Regions from separate parts of the Homo sapiens genome. Here regions 2, 3 and 4 are each linked to region 1. The links are contacts of gene promoters, found by promoter capture Hi-C in blood cells and fetal thymus (Javierre and others, 2016). All regions are on one chromosome and are shown on one strand. Each heading gives the region's core, a stretch centred on a gene start or on the middle of the fragment in contact. The rest is flanking DNA. Distances are from core to core; before and after follow the strand shown.

Region 1 (5,424 bases), core at 1,375-3,874:
CTATAGCCTGGAACTCCTGGGCTCAAGCAATCCTGTCACCTCAGCCTCCCAAGTAGCTGGAACTACAGGTGTGCACCTCTGCACCTGGCTGTCTCCTTACCTTTTTTTTTTTTTTTGGCAGCATTTTTTAAAGTAGATTATTGGTTGGGCGCAGTGGCTCACACCTGTAATCCCAGCACTTTGGGAGGCCAGGGCAGGCGGATCACTTAAGACCAAGAGTTTGAGACCAGCCTGGCCAACATGGTGAAACCCTGTCTCTACTAAAAATACAAAAAATTAGTTGGGCATGGTGGTGCATGCCTGTAGTCCCAGCTACTCAGGAGGGTGAAGCGTGAGAATTGCTTGAACCCAGGAGGTGGAGGTTGCAGTGAGCTGAGATTGCGGCACTGCACTCCAGCCTGGGTGACAGAGCGAGACTGTCTTGAAAAGAAAAGAAAAATAAAGTAATTACTTTTGTTTTATTGATGAATAATAGATGTACCAAGTTTCAGGGTACATGTGACAATTTAATACATTCATATAATTTGTAAAGATCAAATAAGTGTATCTGGAATATTCATCACCTTAAATATTTGGCTTTTCTTTATGCTAGAACCATTTGAATTCTTCTCTTCTAGCTATTTTGAAATGTAAAATAGCTTATTGTAAGCTATAGTCACCCTACTGATCTACTAAGTCTTATTTCTTCTATCAAACTATATATTTGTACCCATTGATCAATTTATCTTCATCCCTCCCACTCCCTTCCCCCTTACATTCTTTTTATTCTTTTTTTTTTTTCTTTTTTTTCTTGAGACATTGCTTCACTCTTGTTGCCCAGGCTAGAGCGCAGTGGCACGATCTCGGCTCACTGCAACCTCCGCCTCCCAGGTTCAAGCAATTCTCCTGCCTCAGCCTCCCGAGTAGATGGGATTACAGATGTCCATCACCATGTCCGGCTAATTTTTTGTATTTTTAGTAGAGACGGGGTTTCACCATGTTGGCCAGGCTGGTCTCGAACTCTTGACCTCAGGTGATCCACCTGCCTTGGCCTCCCAAAGAACTGGGATTACAGGCATAAGCCACGGTGCCCAGCTTTTTTTTTTTTTTTTTTTTTTTTTTGAGACAGTCTCACCCTGACACCCAGGCTGGTGTGCAGTGGCACGACCTTGGCTCACTGCCACTTTTGCCTCCTGGGTTCAAGCGATTCTCCTACCTCAGTCTCCTTTGTAGCTGGGATTACAGGCGTGCGCCACCATGCCCAGCTAATTTTGGTATTTTTAGTAGAGATGAGGTTTCACCATGTTGGCCAGGTTGGTCTCGAAATCCAGACCTCAATCCATCCGCCCGCCTCAGCTTCCCAAAGTGCTGGGATTACAGGCATGAGCCACTGCGCCCAGCCTCCCCTTACATTCTTAACCTTGGGGGTGACACAGATAGATCAGCTCCAGGGAGTTATCCAGGTAACTGGAAAGACACGCTAAGGTTCTTAATGTCTACATCTAAACTATCCCAGACTCAATATCTTGCAAAATCCATACTCTAGCCATCCATCGAACAGGATTGCTAAAGAAGAAATCAGATGTAATGTCTAAATAAATCAGCCCCTTGGCACCAGAGAAATAAATTATGGAGTTGGGTGGGGTATCCAAGCCCTCCGGGTCGCATACCACCAGCACACTAGGGGAGAAGTCTACTCACTATTCTCCACTGTAGGATCGTAGCCTTCCGAGAACTCGCCTTCCACAAATTGATGTGCCAAAGATGTCTTCCCTGTGGGGAGCAGTGTGACAGTTGTATCCAAATCATCCATCCACATTCACATCCTCTGTCCTTTCGGACTGTGGCCCAGGACCAAAGGAGACCCCAAATTAACACCACAGTCTGTGAGTGCCTCAAGCAATGCTATCCTTTGTGTCTACCCTCACCCTCTTTTCACCCAGGGTCTCCGCACTTTGGCTACCGGATGCATTCAGAAGCGCAGCAGGAAGCCTTTCCCGCCGCCTTCCCCACCCCATCCCACTCGTAGGAAGATCCAAGATTCCCTAGGATCAAGTCCGCCCCGCCCCAGGACACCTGCGACTATCTGTCCCCACGGAGACCGCGTCCCGGTTTTCAAATTGTGACCCCACCCCTATCCCCAAAGTAACGCTGGGACCACTCTGAGATTCCCGCAGCCAGGTCCGCATTAACCCTTAAGTGCTCCCGCTTCCTGCAGCCTCCACACACCACCAACTCTTCCAATCCTCCACTCTTCCATTCCTCCACTCTTCCAATCCTCGCTCTACAACCCCATCCTTACGATGTCATCATTCCTCCCTGGGTCGCGTTCCCACGGCAGCGCGCCTCTTCTGGCTACAAAGCTGCTGCGCGTCCGAGCTCTGCAGGGCGGAGACTCACCTACACAGCGGTATCCGAGGATGACCACCTTCCTGTAGCGGACTAGCGGCATGGCAGGAGCCCGCCCCAGGGGCTTGCGGAACTGCGGGCTCAGAGAGCCCGAAAACGAGGTCAGGGTGTGAGCAGGCGCGGCAGCTGGTGCAGGAAAGTCGCTCACCCCGAAGCTGCCGTGGGCAAGTTAGAAGGAAACCAAAACAAGCGCCGCGCCCGGAGCTGCCCACGTGATCACAACACAGCACGTCTAACGCCAGGGAGCCGGGCGCCCGGGGAACTACTGAGCCGCGCCGCGCCGGGCTCCGCCCCCCAGGCCGCTCGCCATTGGTCCATTAGAATGGGTAAGGGCGGTGCCGCCAGCAGGAGGGAAGGGTGGGCCTCACGTGGAGCGGGAGAACTGGGAGCTGCGCGTGCGCAGACTGGAGCCGGTTCATTCATAAAGAAACAGAAAGGAACCCGGGGTCCTAAAGGCGTTTGCGCATTTACAGCCTAGCTGAAGTGGCTTCGAAGAATTATGGATGGAAAATACCCGTTTTGTGGTTTCCGGTCATAAGATTCTAGCCCTCCCTTTTGCATGGTCTCTGGGGTCCTTAGATAGGGAGAAAACCGCCAAAGTTCTAGTATATTCCTTCTGCTTCCCCCAGCCTTCAGCCCCAGACCTATCAAGGTTTCCAGTCTTCCAGCATCTAATTTCAAACTGCAATTCTTATTCTTGCAGAAATTGCTAGAATTTATGATCAAGTAGTCTGAGGTTTCTTCTTCATCATCATGATCCTCAAATATTCATTTTTCAACAAATACTGAGTATATACTACATGTTTCAGGCATTGCTCCAGCTTTGGGGTCAGAACATGGACATCACAGACAATGTGTCTGCTCTTATGAAGGGAGAAACAAACATACAACAAGGAAATATCAGAGAGTGTTAAGTGCTGTAGAAGATGGTGTGATGAAAGATGACCACTTTATTTTTTTTATTTTTTTATTTTTATTTTTATTTTTTTTGAGACGGAATCTCGCTCTTTCTACCAGGCCGGAGGGCAGTGGCTCTATCTCGGCTCACTGCAAGCTCCGCCTCCCGGGTTCACGCCATTTTCCTGCCTCAGCCTCCAGAGTAGCTGGGACTACAGGCGCCCGCCACCGCGCCCGGCTAATTTTTTGTATTTTTAGTAGAGACGGGGTTTCACCGTGTTAGCCAGCATGGCCTCCATCTCCTGACCTCGTGATCCGCCCGCCTCGGCCTCCCAAAGTGATGGGATTACAGGCGTGAGCCACCGCGCCCGGCCGACCACTTTATTTTTTAAAGACAATACAGCATTTTTAATTTTTTTTCTTTATTTATTTTGAGACAGGGTTATGAGACTGGCTAATTTTTGTATTTTGGGGAGAGATGGGGTTTTGCTATGTTGCCCAGGCTGGTCTCGAACGCCTAGCCTCAAGTGATCCACCTGACCCGGCCTCCCAAAGTGCTGGGATTACAGACGTGAGCCACCGAGCCTGGCTGAGATGACCACTTTAGTGATACTTTCTCTCATAGGAAACCCCATTTAAACTAAGATCTGAAGGAACCAACTAGGAGATTTCACAAGAAGAATCCACCAATGCTAAGGCGTTAAGATGGAAATAAATTGGGTAAATTCCAGGAAGAGGGGAAGAAAAAAAGAAAGCCAGTTAGCCTAAAGCAGATGAAGTCTAAGAGAATGGCAGAGGCCAGGCCACATAAAGGAGTCTGGGCTAATTCTAAGTACTTGAAGGTATTTAAGCTGGGGCATGACATGATCTAAATTGTCTTTCTAAAAAATCTCCCTGGCTGTAGTGAATAGATTGGGGTTTGAGGGTAACAGGAGCAAAAGGAAGCAGGGAGATTGGCGAGGAAACTGTTACCTGTAGTCCAGGTGAGAGATGAGAGCGCTTGACTAGAGTGATCATGTTGAATGAAGTTGAGAATTCAGGATATTCTGAAGCTAAGGTTAAAATGACTTGTGGAAGGATTGGTAGAGGAGGGAAGAAAGGAAGGAAATCACCTAGATTTATAGAGAGTTCGACTATACTATGTGCCAGGTGCATTTTATTGTTATCTCATTTAATATTCACAAAAGCCCTAGGCCGGGCATGGTGGCTCATGCCTGTAATCCCAGCACTTTGGGAGGCTGAGGTGGACGGATCGCTTGAGGTCGGGAGTTCGAGACCAGCCTGTCCAACATAGTGAAACCCCGTCTCTACTAAAAATACAAAAATTAGCCGTGCGTGATGGTGCATGCCTGTAATTCCAGCTACTCAGGAGGCTGAGGCAGGAGAATCGTTTGAACACGGGAGGCAGAGGTTGCAGTGAGCCGGGATTGCACCATTGTACTCTGCACTCCAGCCTGGGAGACAGAGTGAGACTCCATCTTAAAAAAATATATATATATATATATATATATATTCATCTTCTACTTTGTGCCAGGCACTCTTACTATGTGTTGCACACTAGGATACAGAAATAAATAACAGATGCCTTTTATACTGCTTGTCCCGTCCATATGAACTCTCCATTCTTTTCCACCCAGATTTATGTCCAGGAGGCAGACCTTGTCTCCTGGCTTTCAGTGAAGCTCAGCCAAAGGAAAGCACACACAGAAGATTCAATGGACAGAGGAGAGTGGCTCTGTCCCCCATTGAAGGTCACAGTACCTCTCAAGGCAGCTGCCTCCTCCAACACACACACACACAGCTCTCTCCTGGTTTTCAGTGACTCCCCTCAGCCTTTATGCCTATAGCAGTATCAGCCTCTTTTCTGTTATTCACCTTGGGGCATTGCTCTATCTGTTGTGGTCTCCCTATACCCTGCCCACATCTTTGTAAATAGTCTCTTTATTAAACCATCTGAATTCTCCTGTTTTGAATCAGAGAGAAAGCAAAAGAGCCAAGGCAAAGGGCTTTCTCCTCTTGTGACTTTTTCTTTTTACCTGGTAAGGGAAGCTCTCACAGCAGATATTCACCTACATCTCATTGAACAAGATTGTTTTATATAGTCATTTCTAGTTGTAAGGGAACCTGGAAATTTTAGCA
Region 2 (5,165 bases), core at 1,755-4,254, 210 kb after region 1:
TAATACATAGCTCATTGCAGCCTCGAGCTCCTGGACTCATGTGATTCTCCTGCTTCAGCCTCCTAAGTAGCTGGGGACTGCAGGTGCACACCACCATGCCCAGCTATTTTTATTTCTTGTAGAGATGGGGCCTTGCTATGCTGCCCAGGGTGGTCTTCAACTGGCTTCAAGTGATCCTCCTGCCTCAACCTCTCAAAGTTTTGATTATAGGCATGAGCCACTGCCCAGCTTCTTGGTTTATCTGTTTAATTTGGGCCTGAATTAAGTGGTTATAGAATCATTTTGTAAGTGAGGAAACGGGTTCAGATTGAGCCAGTGCTTCTCTAACTAAAATGGATGTGAATCACCTGTAGATATTAAAATGCAGGTTTGGGGTCAACCTGGTGGCTCATGCACTTCGGGAGGCCAAGTTGGGTGGATCACGAGCCCAGGAATTCGAGACCAGCCTGGGCAACATGGTGAAAACCCATCTCTACCAAAACAAAAATTTGCATGCTGTGATGGCACCTGCCTATAGGTGGGAGGACCACCTGAGCCCAAGGAGGTTGAGGTAGTGAGCCATGATTGCACCACTGCATTCCAGCCTGGGTGACGGAGACCCCTGACTCTCAAATTTAAAAACAAAATGCAGGTTCTAATTCTATAGGCTTGAGGTGAGGCTTCAGACACGTCTTAAATTTTTTTTCTTTGAGATGGTCTCTTTCCCAGGCTGCAGTGCAATGGCACCATCATAGCTCACCCCCACCTTGACCTGGGCTAAGCCATCCTCCCACCTCAGCCTCCCAAGTAGCCAGGACTACAGGTGTGTTCCACCATGCCTGGCTGATTCTTGTAATTTTTTTTTTTTTTTTTTTTTTTTTTTTTGGTAGAGATGGGGTTTTGCCATGTTGCTTAGGCTGGCCTTGAACTCCTGGGCTCAGGCAATCCTGCCTCAGCCTCCCAAAGTGCTGGGATTACAGGAGTGAGCCACTACACCTGGCCCCTAGATACGTTTTTTAATAACCTCCCAAATGATGCTGTTGGTCTGATGTGACCACATGTACAGTAGCAAAGGGTTAGATAACAGTAACTGCTGGAGCCAAAATTCAAGTGCCCAGCCACACTGCCAGAACTATTGCTGTCAGTCTTTAATAAAGTATTAGTCACACGAGAAGGGCTTGGAATCCTGATTTATTCCATACTTAGCTAAGACCTACAGTGGCAAAGATGGTTCGTACTAAAGGGGTTATTGTTTAGAGAAAGTGGAAATGTCAGACAAAATAACAGTCACCGGTTTTTCTGGTATTGGCATTTGACCCAATTGTATGTCATGGAGATTATTTGAAGTAGGAGTAATATGTATGTGTAGGAAAGATTGGAGAGGGGTGAGTTCTCTGATTTGGACTTTTTTCCAAGCACCTGTTGGAGGACCGTGGTTCTTGGGGGCAGACGGGTGAAGGGGCATGAGTGTTATACGTAGCTGGAGAGCTTGGTGCCTGGTACTCAGTTGAACTAAGCAATGGGAAAGGACAATGACCAAAAGGTGAAGCTTCATGCAGAAGGGAGGAATCAGTTTTGGTGCTTGGGTGCTTGCCTGAGTGGGAATGCCTAATGAGTGGTAGCAGATGGGCCCTGGGGGCAGAGTTGCAGGCATACTCACCTCTCCTCCGTGACTTACTTTATTCTGATGTGTACCCAGTTACCATCTCTTTCCCAAAGGTGTTTTGTATCCCTTACCCATTGCTCACTTTAGCCCCTTTGCTCTGAGAATTGCATCTGAAAGATGTGCATGTTTAAGGCCAGCGCTGGGGTTCACAGCTGCAGTCCCAGCACTCTGGGAGGCCAAGGTGAGAGGATTGCTTAAACCCAAGAGTCTGAGACCAGTGCCTGGGCAAGAGGGTGAGACCCTGTCTATTTTGAGCATTTTTTTGGCCGGGTACCATGGCTCACGCCTGTAATCCCGGCACTTTGGGAGGCTGAAGCAGGTGGATCACTTGAGCTTAGGAGTTCAAGACCAGCCTGGGCAATATGGTGAAACCCCATCTCTACTAAAAATACAAACAATTAGCTGGGCATGGTGGTGCACGTCTGTGGTCCCAGCTGCTTGAGAGGCTGAAGTGGGAGGATTGCTTGAGCCTGGGAGGTGGAGGTAGCAGTGAGCTGAGATCGTGCCACTGCCCTCCAGCCTAAGGGACAAAAAATTTTTTTCCCTTAAATTTTTTTTTATGTCTCAAATTTTTTTAAATGTATATATTATACCTGCGTGCATAGCACAGCATGCTTTTGCAGCCTGAGATGCCTCAACTATGTGCTCTGGATGGTTTTATATAGCATTTGTCGAGAGCAACCATAGTTTTATGTCCTTCGGGGCAAGGTAAGACCCCAGCACAAATTCAGCCACTGCTACTTCTCAGATGAGCCAGGTTCTTCCTGCAGCCTGGGCAGGGGAGCGGGGTGGGATGCCTGAAATGAAGGTGAACCTTGAAGACGCTGGCTAGCCTGCCAGAGGGGATTTTGAGACCTTCCCAGGCCAGGAGATCTGCTGATTGCCATAGTGCAAGCACTGGAGGAAATGGGAATGGGACACCCGTGTATGAAAAGGAGCAGATAAATCACAAAGCTTAGGCGAGTGTGACACCCCATGACACCAGCATTTCCCAAGCAGGGTGCCCTGAGAATAGGATTCAGGGTGCCCATATAGGATCCCTTCGGCTTTTAGAATGACATGGTGGAAACTGGAGAGCCTGACTCACCCATCCTCCCTGGGGCCAGTCACCCTGGCCAGGAGTAGCCCCCTCCATTTACCTCTGTACACCTTACAGATGAATTATTTTCTACATGTGCCAAGATGTGAAAAAGGTTGGAAAGCTTTAAGCAGCCACAGAGGTCTGGGGTGAAAGAAGGTGAGAGAAAAGTTTAGCTGAGAAGAAATATTCCAGTAGAATAAAGCCTGGGGAATTGGAAGAGCAAAGTGCCAGTGGTTGGGGGGGCATTTGTCCTTGTAAAGATGATTTCCCCCTCCTGCGTTGGAGGGAGAGTGAATAGAAGTTAGCCTGCAGCAAGAACAAATATACCCCAAGGTCTAGGTCACTGCTTTGTGGCTGACAATCATCTGATCTGCCCTTGAGCACGAATGGAAAGTCTGGACCCAGAGCTGCGACTGATGCTGATGCTGAGGCCGCTGAAGCTTGATGGGAATAAATGCACACAGCCTAAGAGGATTCGGGCTCCTGAGGCTGGCGGCAGCCCCAGGTCCGGCTGTGTGGACAGAGGGCTTAGTCTGCCCTCACCTAACCTGGCCAGAGGAGCAACCTGCTTCCCCCCACAGAGGCCGCTGACCACTGAGAGGTTAGCATGTCTGGGCAGAGGTGTTTTGGGCAGGGATGAGAAGGGGGATAATGACTTTGAGGGGCTAAGGGCCTGCCTGTCCACCTGTCATTCTGTGTTTGGGAAGCAGCTGGCAAGTGACTCTTCTCCAGCAGGAATCTGTCAGGCCAGAGGATGGCCAAGTGGGTTATGCAATTACAAATCAGTCTTCAGGCCTCTGCTGGAAGGTGGTGTGGCAGTCCTGGGTGAGGCTGAAGGAGGTCAGGGGAGGCGCTGTCAGGGTGGGAGGAAAAGGTGCCTTCACAGTTTCCACAGTACCCTGGGAGGTGATGTTATTATACCCACTTCCATAGCTCACAGAGATTGAATATCTAGCCTAAGGCTACAGAATGAGTGGCAGAACTGAAATTTTACCGCAGAGCTCTGGCTCTAAAGCCTAGGCTGACTCCACTCTGTCGTCCAGCCATCGAGGAGCTCCAGAGGAAATCGGCTCTGCACCTGGCAGCCTTTCCAGTCCTGGGGGGATAGTGCCACCTCCCAGGACCCTTGGGGCATGAGGTCAACAAGGGCCAGCCCTCACATGAGCACTGGATGGAGCTGTAGTCACAGAGAGATCTCATTATGCCAGTGATTGTCAGAAAACCTCCCAAGAGCCCCGTTCCTGGGCCCAGGTGGCAGCCCATTGACCTTAAATAGCAAAGCCAGCTGGTCCCCATGTCCAGGCTGTAGCTTCCCTAGTGAGGGGGCATTTTTGTCCAGGCCTCCCTCTGAACTCAGTTCTCAGGTCACGGGGAGATACAGTGCCCTTGCAGGATGGCTGCTGCCACCTGCCTGGTCTCCTGCCAACAGGGACACCAGCTGAGGCACAGGCAGGACAGTGTACACCTGGAGCCTCGCTCCTCTATGCTCCAGGGCCAGAGTGGTCAGTGCCCGTCAGCTGAGGCGGCAAGGTGAAGCTGGCAGAGATGACCCAGGCAGATGGCTCCAGGAGCCCAATGCCAGGGCGACTATCTAGGAGACACAAGGCAGCAGAAGCTGAAGAGAAAATAGACCCTTGGGTGTGGGGGCTGTGGAGCAGGAGTGGGCCCTCGCCCCGTGAAATAGGTCCCCTTTGCTGACATCTCATTAGCCTGTCACTGCCCCTTTCATGCCAAGAACCTAGTGCCCCTGAATTTGTCATTGTCAGCCCCAAGCAGGTTTTGGGAAAACAGTTCTTTCCTCCTCTACACTCCCTCCGAGTCTACAGCAGGAGAGCAATAGTCAGAATCAATGAACCTTCCAGAACTAGAGACATGTCTGCTTTAGTCATAATACAAAAAATGCTTTTAAACAGTCGTCTCCCTACTGGACTTTTTTTTCTCTCTCTCTCTTATTTATTTATTTATTTATTATTTTTGAGACAGTCTGTCTCTGTCGCCAGGCTGGAGTGCAGTGGTGTGATCTCAGCTCACTGCAACCTCCGCCTCCCGGGTTGAAGTGATTCTCCTGCCTCAGGCTCCCAAGTAGCTGGGACTACAGGCATGTACTACCACGCCCAGCTAATTTTTGTAGTTTTGGTAGAGACAGGGTTTCATCATGTTGGCCATCTCCTGACCTTGTGATCCGCCCGCCTTGGCCTCCCAAAGTGTTGGGATTACAGGCGTGAGCCACCGCGCCTGGCCTTTTTTTTTTTTAATTGGAACAGACTATAAAGGTTTTACAGAATATAAAGATTTCCTAATTACACAAAGATTTTGTCTACAGAAATTAGTTTAACTCATGGAAGAGGGTGGGTATAAATTCAACCCCACTCTCTCTCCCTTCACCCTCTCTGCACACTTCTCTATTTTTTTTTTTTTTTTTTTTTTTTTTTTGAGACG
Region 3 (5,195 bases), core at 469-2,968, 190 kb after region 1:
CGAGATCATGCCACTGCACTCCAGCCTGGGCAACAGAGCGAGGCTCCATCTAAACAAAAAAAAAAAAAAAAAAAAAAAACGGGAAATGAATTGTCAAATGAGGATATATATAGGGTGAGGTATGGAAGGCTCCTGAGTGCAGCAGCTTCTGTCCTTTGAGTGTAGTGGAGCTGGGGTGCACAACCCTCCTGCAAGTGGATATGTTCTTGTTTACCAGTTTGGAACTCTGGGAACCCGGTAGTTTAGGGATTTTTATGGAGGCTTCATCACGTAGGCATGATCAGTTTTTAACTCAATCCCTAGTCCTTCTCCCCTCCCTGGAGGATGGGGGATGTGGCTAAATTTTCAAGCTTCTAGTCATGACTTTGTCTTTCTGGTGACCAGACCCTATCCTGAAGCTATCCAGCAAGACACCAAGAGACCCTCATTAGTACAAAAGATGCTCCCATCACCCAGGAAGTTCCAAGGATTTAGGAGCTCTGTGTCAGGAACTTGGTGCAGAGGCAAAACACATATATTTTTTTTTTATTTTTTAAGTAGAAACGGGGTCCCTCTGTGTTGCCCAGGGTGGTCTCAAACTCCTGAGCTCAAGTGATCCTACCACTTCAGCCTCCCAAATTGCTGGGATTACAGGCTTGAGCCACTGCACCTGACCTCAGGCTGTTTTAGAGCAAGTCTTATCCTCACACCAAATGCAGATGGAGAAACTCACCCAAAATACAACTACGGACCTTGCCAAGGTTACTCTATTTAATCACACTATAAGCCAGAATTCCTAGTAATTATAATGGCTCTGAGAGTTTACAGTGAATAGTCTAATTCAGTATTTTGTTATTCTAATCTTTACTTTCCTTACTCTGCAGTGCTTTTCCCTTTGTATTTTATCTTGTCCTTGTCTTTAAAGGTCAAAATGATTCTGTTGCTTGCTAAGAAACCAACTACCACTTTCCCCAGCAGCTGAACTTATCTTTAAAAAATATATATATATATATATATATATATTTCTCTGATAGAGGTCTTGCTATGTTGCTCAGGCTGGTCTCAAACCTCTGGACTCATGTGATCCACCCACTTGGTCTTCCAAAGTGCTGGAATTACAGTCATGAACCACTCTACCTGGTAGATTCGTCTTTTCTTTTTGTTTTTCGAGACTGAGTCTCATTCTATCACCCATGCTGGAGTGCAGTGGCGCAATCTCAGCTCACTGCAACCTCCACCTCCCAGGTTCAAGCGATTCTCCATTCTTGTGACTCAGCCTCTGGAGTAGCTGGGATTACAGGCGTCTGCCACCACGCCTGGCTAATTTTTATATTTTTATTAGAGACAGGGTTTCACCATGTTGGCCAGGCTGGTCTGGAACTCCTGACATCACGTGATCCGCCGGCCTCAGTCTCCCAAAGTGCTGGGATTACAGGCGTGAGCCACCACGCCCAGCCAGATTTATCTTTTTAGGCTTCCATAGCAATGTGCTTGAGGCTAGGGCGTGGTGGCTGACATCTGTATTCCCAGCATTTGGGGAGGCTGAGGCCAGTGGGTGTGGTGGCACGTGCCTGTAGTCCCAGCTACTTGGGAGGCCCAGGTGGGAGGATCACCTGAGCCTGGGACGTTGAGGCTGCAGTGAGCTACAGTGGTGCCACTGCACTCCAGCCTGGGTGAGAGAGTGAAACCCTGTCTCAAAAACAAACAAACGAACAACACTAAAAGAAACTAGTGTGCTTGGGGTTAGGCCCTCCTGGCCTTGACCAAAGGCCATGAAACCCCCAATGCAACTGAGCAAGTGAGCATCAGCGAAACAGGCTGTGTAGCTTGTCAGGTGATCTCTGTTCCAGGATAATTTTTTTTTCCTCTGAAACAACTTTGGTTTATTATCAGTCATTTCGTGCAGAGTAAAGAGAAAGAACAGCGTGAATTTAAAATTTGTTTCTTTGTTTTGAACAAAAATTATTTCTTCTTTTTCTTTTCCACAGTGTGTGAACCCAGCTCTGTCCCTTGGGTTCCGTACATATAAATGGAGCAGCTGAGGGAACTGGATAAGAAGTCGATTTTGTAGTTACAGGCTGTTCCGTATCACCCATTTACAAGGTCAGTGGGGACTGAAACTGACCAAAACAGAGAACTATGTACTTTAAAATGAGGAAATCTTTATCTATCAGAAACACACAAAGAACTTTCAGGGGTTCTAAAGGGCTTATATTCCTGACTCCATTGGAACAAAATATGCTGGAGGGTAAGGAAAAAGGTATATGGACTAGAGGATCAAAAACAGCAAAGTGTTGTAAAAACAGAGGCCTGCAAGTGCAGACCCTCATCTGTTAGAACCCTGTTCCAGCCTCCTTCCTTCACTGAATCTCCTGAGGGGTTTGGGGACATTGCAGATTTTGATGATTTGGGGAAATAAACATGTAATTAAAGTTGTAGATATAAAAGTGGTTCTATATTAATGTTCTTGGAGAGAAGACAGTAATTTAGGCCAGGAGCGGTGGTTCACGCCTGTAATCCTAACACTTTGGGAGGCTGAGGCGGGTGGATTACCTGAGATCAGGAGTTTGAGACCAGCCTGGCCAACATGATGAAACCCCGTCTCTACTAAAAATACAAAAATTAGCTCGGCATGGTGGTGGGCGCCTATAATCCCAGCTACTTGGGAGTCTGCGGCAAGAGAATCACTTGAACCCAGGGGGCAGAGGTTGCAGTGAGTCCAGATCAAGCCACTCCATCTCAAAAAAAAAAAAAAAAAGAAGACAGTGGTTTAGAAATGAAGGCCTTAAAGCCAACCTCCTGAGGGAAGGGTTGGGATTCCAAAGAAGGCTGGACTGAAGGCAACATGCGCTGCTGTGTGACCTCAGGGCAGTTCCCAAAGCCAGGCAGCCTCCATTTCCTCTCCTGTAAAATGGAGGTAACAATAGTGTCTACCTCATAGGATTATCGTGAAGAATAAATAAGTTAAAGCATTTAAAATCCTCAGTCCAGGGATGAACACCTAGCATGCAGATACTGGTACTAGCAGTGGAGGGGCTGAGGAATGGGGGCAGGAAGAGGCATTTATTTTTTTTTTAATTTTACGTTTGCAGGCCAGGCGAGGTGGCTCAAGCTTGTAATTCCAGCACTTTGGGAGGCCAAGGTGGGAGGATTACTTGAGGCCAGGAGTTTGAGACAGTCTGGACAACAGCAAGACCCTCTCGCTACAAAAAATACAAAAAATTAGCCAAGCATGGTGGCGCACACGGTAACCTCAGCTATTCAGGAAGCTAAGGCGAGAGGATTGCTTGAGCCCAGGAAGTTGAGGCTGCAGTGAGTCGTGATCATGCCAGCGCACCCCAGCCTGGGTGACAGAGGGAGACCCTGTTTCAAAAAAAATGTTGTACAGCTGTACAATGTGTTTTAAGCTGTGTTATTACAAGAGACAAAAAGTTTAAAAAAAAAAAGTTTACAATTTTTTTTTTTTTTTGAGCAGAGTCTCACTCTACTGCCCAGGCTGGAGTGCAGTGGTACAATCTTGGCTCACTGCAGCCTCCGCCTTCCGGGTTCCAGTGATCCTCCTGCCTCAGCCTCCCAAGTAGCTGAGATTACAGGTATGTGCCACCACATCCGGCTAATTTTTTCTATGTTTAGTAGAGGTGAGGTCTCACCATGTTGGCCAGGCTGATTGTGAACTCCTGACCTCAAGTGATCCGCCCACCTCAGCCTCCCAAAGTGCTAGGATTACAGGCATGAGCCACAGCACCTGGCCTTACAAATTTTTAAAGCTACAGTAAGCTAAAGTTAATTTATCATTGAAGAAGGAAACATGTTTTCAAGTTTAATGTAGCCTAAGTGTCAGTGTTTATAAAGTCTACAGTAGTATACAATAATGTCCTAGGTCAGCTGGGTGCAGTGGCTCCCACCTGTAATCCCAGCACTTTGGGAGGCCCAGGAGGGAGCATCACTTGAGCCCAGGAGTTTGTGAGCAGCCTGGGCAACAGAGTGAGACCTTGTTTTTATAAAAATTATTTATGTTTTGTTTTTTGTTTTTCTTTTTGAGACAGTCTCGCTCTATTGCCCAGGCTGGAGTGAACTGGTGTGATCTGGGCTCACTGCAACCTCCACCTCCCTATTTCAAGCGATTCTCCTGCTTCAGCCTCCCAAGTAGCTGGGATTACAGGTGTGCATCACAACGCCTGGCTAATTTTTGTGTTTTTAGTAGAGATGGGGTTTCGCCATGTTGGTCAGGCTGCTCTCGAACCCCTGACCTCAGGTGATCAGCCCGCCTTGGCCTCCCAAAGTGCTAGGATTACAGGCATGAGCTATCATGCCCGGCTATAAGTAAATAAATAAATAATTCAAAAATGAAATTTTTTTTTTTTTGAGACGGAGTTTTGCTCTTGGTGCCCAGGCTGGAGTGCAATGGCACACTCTCGGCTCACTGCAACCTCCACCTTCCAGGTTCAAACAATTTTCTTGCCTCAGCCTCCCGAGTAGCTGGGATTACAGGCATGTGCCACCACGCCTGGCTAACTTTTTTGTATTTTTAGTAGAGACGGGGTTTCTCCGTGTTGGTCAGGCTAGTCTCGAACTCCTGACCTCAGGTGATCCACCTGCCTCGGCCTCCCAAAGTGCTGGGATTACAGGTGTGAGCCACCGCACCCGGCCAAAAATGAAAAATTTTTTTAAATGTCCTAGGCCTTCACATTCACTTACCACTGACTCACTAAGCAACTTCCAGTCCTGCAAGTTCCATTCATGGTAAGTGCCCTATATAGGTGTGCCATCTTTTATCTTTTATACCATATTTTTACCATAAGTTTTCTATGTTTAGATACAAATACTTTCTTTTTTTTTTTTGAGACGGAGTCTCACTGTGTCGCCCAGGCTGGAATGCAGTGTGCGATCTCGGCTCACTGCAACCTCTGCCTCCCGGGTTCAAGCGATTCTTGAGCCTCAGCCTCCTGTGTAGCTGGCACACACTACCATGCCTGGCTAATTTTTGTATTTTTAATAGAGTTGGGTTTTCACCATGTAGGCCAGGCTGGTCTCAAACGCCTGACCTCAAGTGATCTGCCTGCCTCAACCTCCCAAAATGCTGGGATTATAGGCATGAGCCACCACGCCCAACCTAGATACAAATACCATCTAGTTACAATCGCCTAAGTATTCAGTACAGTAACAGGCTGCACAAGTTTCTAGCTTTGGAGCAATAAGCTAGGTTTGCATATGTA
Region 4 (4,991 bases), core at 2,143-4,642, 200 kb before region 1:
AGAGCCTGCCTGCTGCCCAACTTCACTCCCTTCTGCTCCAGGGTCTCCCCAGTGAAGAGAAAAACCTCCTTGTTACATAACCTGCCTGCTGCTTTTCCATGGGGTCAGAACTTTAGGAGGCTAGCAGGGGAGGGAGAGAATCAAGGGTTCAGTGCCCCACTTCTCCACCCACCCAGATCGGCTTACACTGAAAAGGGCAAAAGGAAAGCTGTACCTCCTGACCGCCCCACATCTCAGGAAGGCAGTCTCAAAGACAGCAGCACCGATGGCTGGGGATTTAGAGGCTAGAGCAAGAGTCCTTCGTTGGAAGGGAAATAGGCAATGCAGACCCAGGTGGTCCCATATGGGAGAATGCTAGGAGCTGAGCCTGCCCCCTCCACCCTGGGGAAGGAGCAGTAGCGGATTTGGAACCCAGACAATCCGTGCTCAGAATAGCAAGCAGCCCCTCTCCCTGCACCACAATCGCCATGGAAACTGGGGGGAATCCAAGCTGGTGGGGGGATGTTGGTCATTAAAAAAAGGAATACAGGGGAGTTGGGATAGCTGCCTGCTCCTTCAGCAAGCCTCCTCCATCCCTTTCTGAGGTGGGGTCTTACCACTGCAGCACTGAGGAGCGGAAGCACTGCAGCACTGGGGAAGGGGGAGGGGAGGAGGCCTCCATTTTGGCTCCAAGCAATCCCCCTCCCCTAAGACTAGCAAGTAAATAATGGGAACAGGGTCAACCCTGAGCCCAACATTGGGAAACCCTATCCCACACACCATGGCCACTTCCTCCTTCCTTATGGGAACCTAATCTGAAAGAGGGAGTTTGAGAATAACTGACAGCCTTTATCCTTTCGGAAATTGGGGGTGGGGGTGTGACACAGGGAACAGAGACTACACTTGCTGATTTTCCATGATCTGGTTTGGGATTTGAGGGCTGCATTCTGACTGTCAAAGGAGGGAGGAGGTGGGGGGAGGGCGTTTGGGCGGTGGTAGTGAAAAGAGATGAGCTGCAGTAAGATTCTGGGAAGATTGGAAGGTGGGAGGGTACAGCAGATGAAAAACCAAAAATTATACATCATGCCATCAAGCTGCATTCTAGCCCAATCTTGCCAGCATAGCACAGCCCAGGAGAACCAGAACGCTGCCTCCCAAGCCCTGAAACTGCAACAGGGAAAAGCATACCAGATTGGGGAATTTTTGTTTGGGGAGGAAAGGCTCATTGTCTGTCTAACCATTCCCTAGCCCCAATCTTTTCAGACCTCAGAATTAGAGCATGGGAACAACAGCTGTTGAAGGAGCAGGACAGCATATTTATTATATGTAGCAGGAAACACCTAGTGATTTACGGTCCCTTTTTAAACTCAGCCTGAATATGCATTTTTGGGGAGGGGTGGATTTTATTTTCTTTCTCTTATTCCCGGCTTTTACTCCTTAATTATGACTCTGAGCCAGTCTATTGAAAAAGGTCTGGGGTAAAGAGATAATGGGAAGGGGTCAGAATCAAGGCAAAGGATAGCCTAGCACTAAGGGCTTGGGGCTGAGAGGCTGGAAAAACATTGTTTCTACATTCTAGAGAGACAGGGCATATTCTACCTCACCCCAGTAGAGGGAAAACAGTCAGAGCCAACCTCCCCTCTGCCCTGCCGGCCACTATTCACAACTGACTATGCCCTATATTAAGCCATCTCCCCCAACTTCCAAAACATCGATGATGCATTGCTTCATCCCCGAGCTGCAGCGGTGTGACGAGTGGGGCTGAGCTGCGGCAGGAGGACAGCAGTGGCCCAAGATGGAATGCAGGAGACAAAACTGAGTCTGAGCAACCTTTCCCCAAAGCAGACTTGTCTCTCCGCCCCAACCACGCTGCCTCCAGCAGCACTGCCTCTTGCCTCTTATTTGGCTTTGCTCTGGGGAAGTAAAAGGTGTGTGTGTGTGTGTGTGTGTGTGTGTGTGTGCGCGCGCGCGCGTGTGTGTGCATGTGTGTACGCGTGCATGTTGGGTGGTAGGGAATGGAAATGGAGAAGTCCTGTTTTACTGCCCACCCCCAGGACTATTCATGGGTCCCTTCACCTCACCATCCCAGCCCTCTAAAGGGTGGAACCAGACCCAGGGAAGAGAGTGGCTCCTGGGGTTCACCCACTCTGCACCCTTGGACCATGCAACTGAGTCCACCAACTGTCAGCCCTCCCCACAACTAATGAGTCTTCAGATCCTCTTTTTTCACTTCTCCCCACCAAAGGGGAAAACAATTTCTAAAAGACAGCAGCTACACAGCAGACCAGTAGGGGTGGGAAAGGGGTATTTGGAGCAGAATTCTTACCTGAGGTATCCCAGAGACTAAGCTCCACCCTCTGTTCCTCTGTCTCCAAACAGGCTGTGTAATTTTCGAACACGGTGGGCACATAGGTCTGTGAAAAGAGAGGAAACATTCACCCCATGCACCCCTACCCTCAGATCCCCTGGTTAGTGCTGGCTACACACGCACTCACCAGAGAGACAGTAAAGTCACAGGAGACAAGAAACCAGAGGAGATGCCTGGGGCAGGAGGGAAGGGACTGTGGAGGACCAGGCACTTTGCTCTGCAGCAGTGAGAAATGTGAATGACACCCCCCCACACCACCACACCAGGGGTAAGCCCCCCATATCCTAGGCGATCAGGGACACACACACACACAGATTCCTCCCATCCCCAGATTTGTGTTTCCCAATTTGAGAGAGCCACAGGCCAAAGCCAATCCTAGCTCATCTCCTCTCAAACCCCTCCCGGCCAGGTGAACAGAGGGGCTGCAGAAGCCTGCCTGAAGGCACAGGCATAGAGCCTTTGAGGAGCAGGTGAGCGGATAGGCAGGGATTACGTCAAGAAGAAACCCCAGACTTTCAAATGCCTCCAGTGCCCTCACCTGAGAGCAGACTCCAGGGACGCAGGAAGGTGGAGGGGATCTGATGGGTCCTCTGGGTGAAGAGGTGAGGAGGAGCCAGCGGGGCGGCAGAAGTGGAACAGGTCTCAGGGGAAGCTAAGGCAGGGCAGTCCTCCAGCCAAAAAGCAGCTGAGGATGGTAAAGCCTCAGAAAGCGGCTGAGGATGGGCTGGGGCTGGGGGAGCCACGTCTCCTGAGCAGGTGGAAATCTACCCCAAGGCGGGCAGGCAGGGAGAAAAGCCGGCCAGCGGGCGGGCGGGCAGCTCACCTCTGGATAGCAATCCTTCGCTAACACTTGCAACATCGCGGTCTTCCCACACTGCACGTCCCCGACCAGAACGAGCTTACATCTGGCCACGACTGGCTGGGGGGCCCGTCTCTCCTTCATGGTTGCAGTGTCCGCGGGACTTGAACTTCGATTCAGAAGGGAGGGTTGCGCCAGGTGCGTCTCAGCACGCCAATCAAGCCAGATTCCCTGCCTCCCTCCAACTGAGGAGGAGGCCGGCACAGCCGCCTTTTATTTTTCTGGCTGAGCCAATCACAAGAGGAGGCGGACTCTGTTACGCCCAATCCCTGAGGTGGGATTCCCTCCAGCAGCCAATGGATCTGAGGATCTGAGTCAGCGCCCCCTTCCTCCCTTCTCTTTCTCTTAAAGCTGCACCGTTGTTTCCCCCTGAAAGGGGATTCCCAGGTTGTTTTGCATTTGTATTAGGAAGTGGAAAGGGTACTGGAAGCAAAATGAAATGATCTGGAGTGTCTACCAATAAGTGTCAGAAAAACAAACTAGCTATGGAAGCAGGAAGTGAGGTCAGGCTGGAGTTGCAGGGACTGTCCCGGGTGGGTTACAAAAGCAGGACCTGCTTAGACTATAGACAGGTGTGTGTGTGTGTGTGTGTTTTGGAGGAGTAGGGGATGGGGGAGGTGGCCCAGAACTTCTCTGACATTTTTTTTCTTTTTTTTCCTTACATCTTTTGTTTTAAATAGAGACAGGGGTCTCACCATGTTATCCAGGCTGGTCTTGAACTTCTGGGCTCAAGCAATCCGCCTGTCTCAGCCTCCCAAAGTGCTGGGACTACAGACATGAGCCACAGCGCCTGGCCTGATGTCTGACTTTTTTGTTTTTTCTAATTCCCATCCAAACCAGTTCTTACTTCCCTTTATTTCCCCTCCCAATATCAGCTCCTGCTGTACCTCTTTTATTTATTTATTTATTTATTTATTTATTTATTTATTTATTTATTTATTTATTTTGAGATGGAGTTTCGCTCTTGTTGCCCAGGCTGGAGTGCAATGGCACGATCTCAGCTCACTGCAACCTCCATCTCCCGGATTCAAGCGATTCTCCTGCCTCAGCCTCCCGAGTAGCTGGGATTACAGGCATGCACCACCATGCCCAGCTAATGTTGTATTTTTAGTAGAGACGGGGTTTCTCCATGTTGGTCAGGCTGGTCTCGAACTCCCGACCTCAGGCGATCCGCCCGCCTTGGCCTCCCAAAGTGCTGGGATTATAGGCGTCAGCCACCGTGCCCGGCCTGTGCCCCTTTTAAAGCCTTCTCTTCTTCAAGAATCACCTTCACCACCAAAGACAGAGAGAGAGAAAGAGAAAGAGAAAACTTTCTAGAGTCATCCATAAAAAAAACACACAGCACCTGACCCAGTGATGGGCAGAGAGAAATGAGGGACTCTGGCAAGTGGGGGTGGGAGAGAGGAAGAAGACAAAGCAAACACAGTCACTGTTTGGCCAGACAGCCTCTCACCCATGCCTAGCAGAAGCTGCTTAGGGGTGTTTGTTCTGCGGCCTAGGCTCAGCTTCCTGGATGAATCAGGCACAGGTCCAGTTCCATGTTAACGCCCACTGAAACTGACGCACTAATGTGTGTCACCTGGTTAAAGTCCAGACTGGGCCCAGGATTTTGGGATTAGAAGCTGGAGGACAATCTAAGGTTGAGATGAACTACATAAATTTTTTTTTTTTTTTTTTTTGAGATGGAGTCTCGCTCTGTTACCCGGGCTGGAGTGCAGTGGCTTGATCTCAGTTCACTGCAACCTCTGCCTCCCGGGTTCAAGCAATTCTCCTGTCTCAGCCTCC

The links. The method cuts DNA at HindIII sites, captures the fragments that hold promoters and counts their contacts. A CHiCAGO score of 5 or more calls a contact.
Region 2: a fragment that was not itself captured here is called in contact with the fragment with the promoter of RHEBL1 in region 1 in 1 of 17 cell types (M2 macrophages); the score reaches 5.6 in M2 macrophages.
Region 3: a contact is called between a fragment that was not itself captured here and the fragment with the promoter of RHEBL1 in region 1, in 4 of 17 cell types (monocytes, M0 macrophages, erythroblasts and 1 more). The highest score is 8.2, in monocytes.
Region 4: the fragment with the promoter of RND1 here is called in contact with the fragment with the promoter of RHEBL1 in region 1 in 2 of 17 cell types (non-activated CD4 T cells and activated CD4 T cells); the score reaches 6.1 in non-activated CD4 T cells.

The regions. Positions count from the first base shown.
Region 1 is chr12:49,067,355-49,072,778 of GRCh38, forward strand. It overlaps RHEBL1 (RHEB like 1), which reads right to left and starts at 2,625. Exons shown (of 8, transcript NM_144593.3): 1 at 2,380-2,625; 2 at 1,681-1,752. The coding sequence starts at 2,431. RefSeq lists enhancers at 2,339-2,648, 3,019-3,068 and a silencer at 2,669-2,788. The HindIII fragment of the contact is 17,864 bases long and covers 1-5,424 here.
Region 2 is chr12:49,273,451-49,278,615 of GRCh38, forward strand. It overlaps TUBA1C (tubulin alpha 1c), which reads left to right. Exons shown (of 4, transcript NM_032704.5): 4 at 1-1,150. Among named protein-coding and RNA genes, the nearest start is that of TUBA1C, 11 kb to the left of the region's middle. RefSeq lists a silencer at 536-830. The HindIII fragment of the contact is 319 bases long and covers 2,846-3,164 here.
Region 3 is chr12:49,254,430-49,259,624 of GRCh38, forward strand. It overlaps a transcript of TUBA1C not described here. Among named protein-coding and RNA genes, the nearest start is that of TUBA1C, 8.1 kb to the right of the region's middle. RefSeq lists an enhancer at 2,031-2,748. The HindIII fragment of the contact is 2,741 bases long and covers 349-3,089 here.
Region 4 is chr12:48,862,478-48,867,468 of GRCh38, forward strand. RND1 (Rho family GTPase 1) reads right to left here and starts at 3,393. Exons shown (of 5, transcript NM_014470.4): 1 at 3,171-3,393; 2 at 2,306-2,393. The coding sequence starts at 3,290. RefSeq lists enhancers at 3,207-3,326, 3,587-3,716. The HindIII fragment of the contact is 16,374 bases long and covers 1-4,991 here.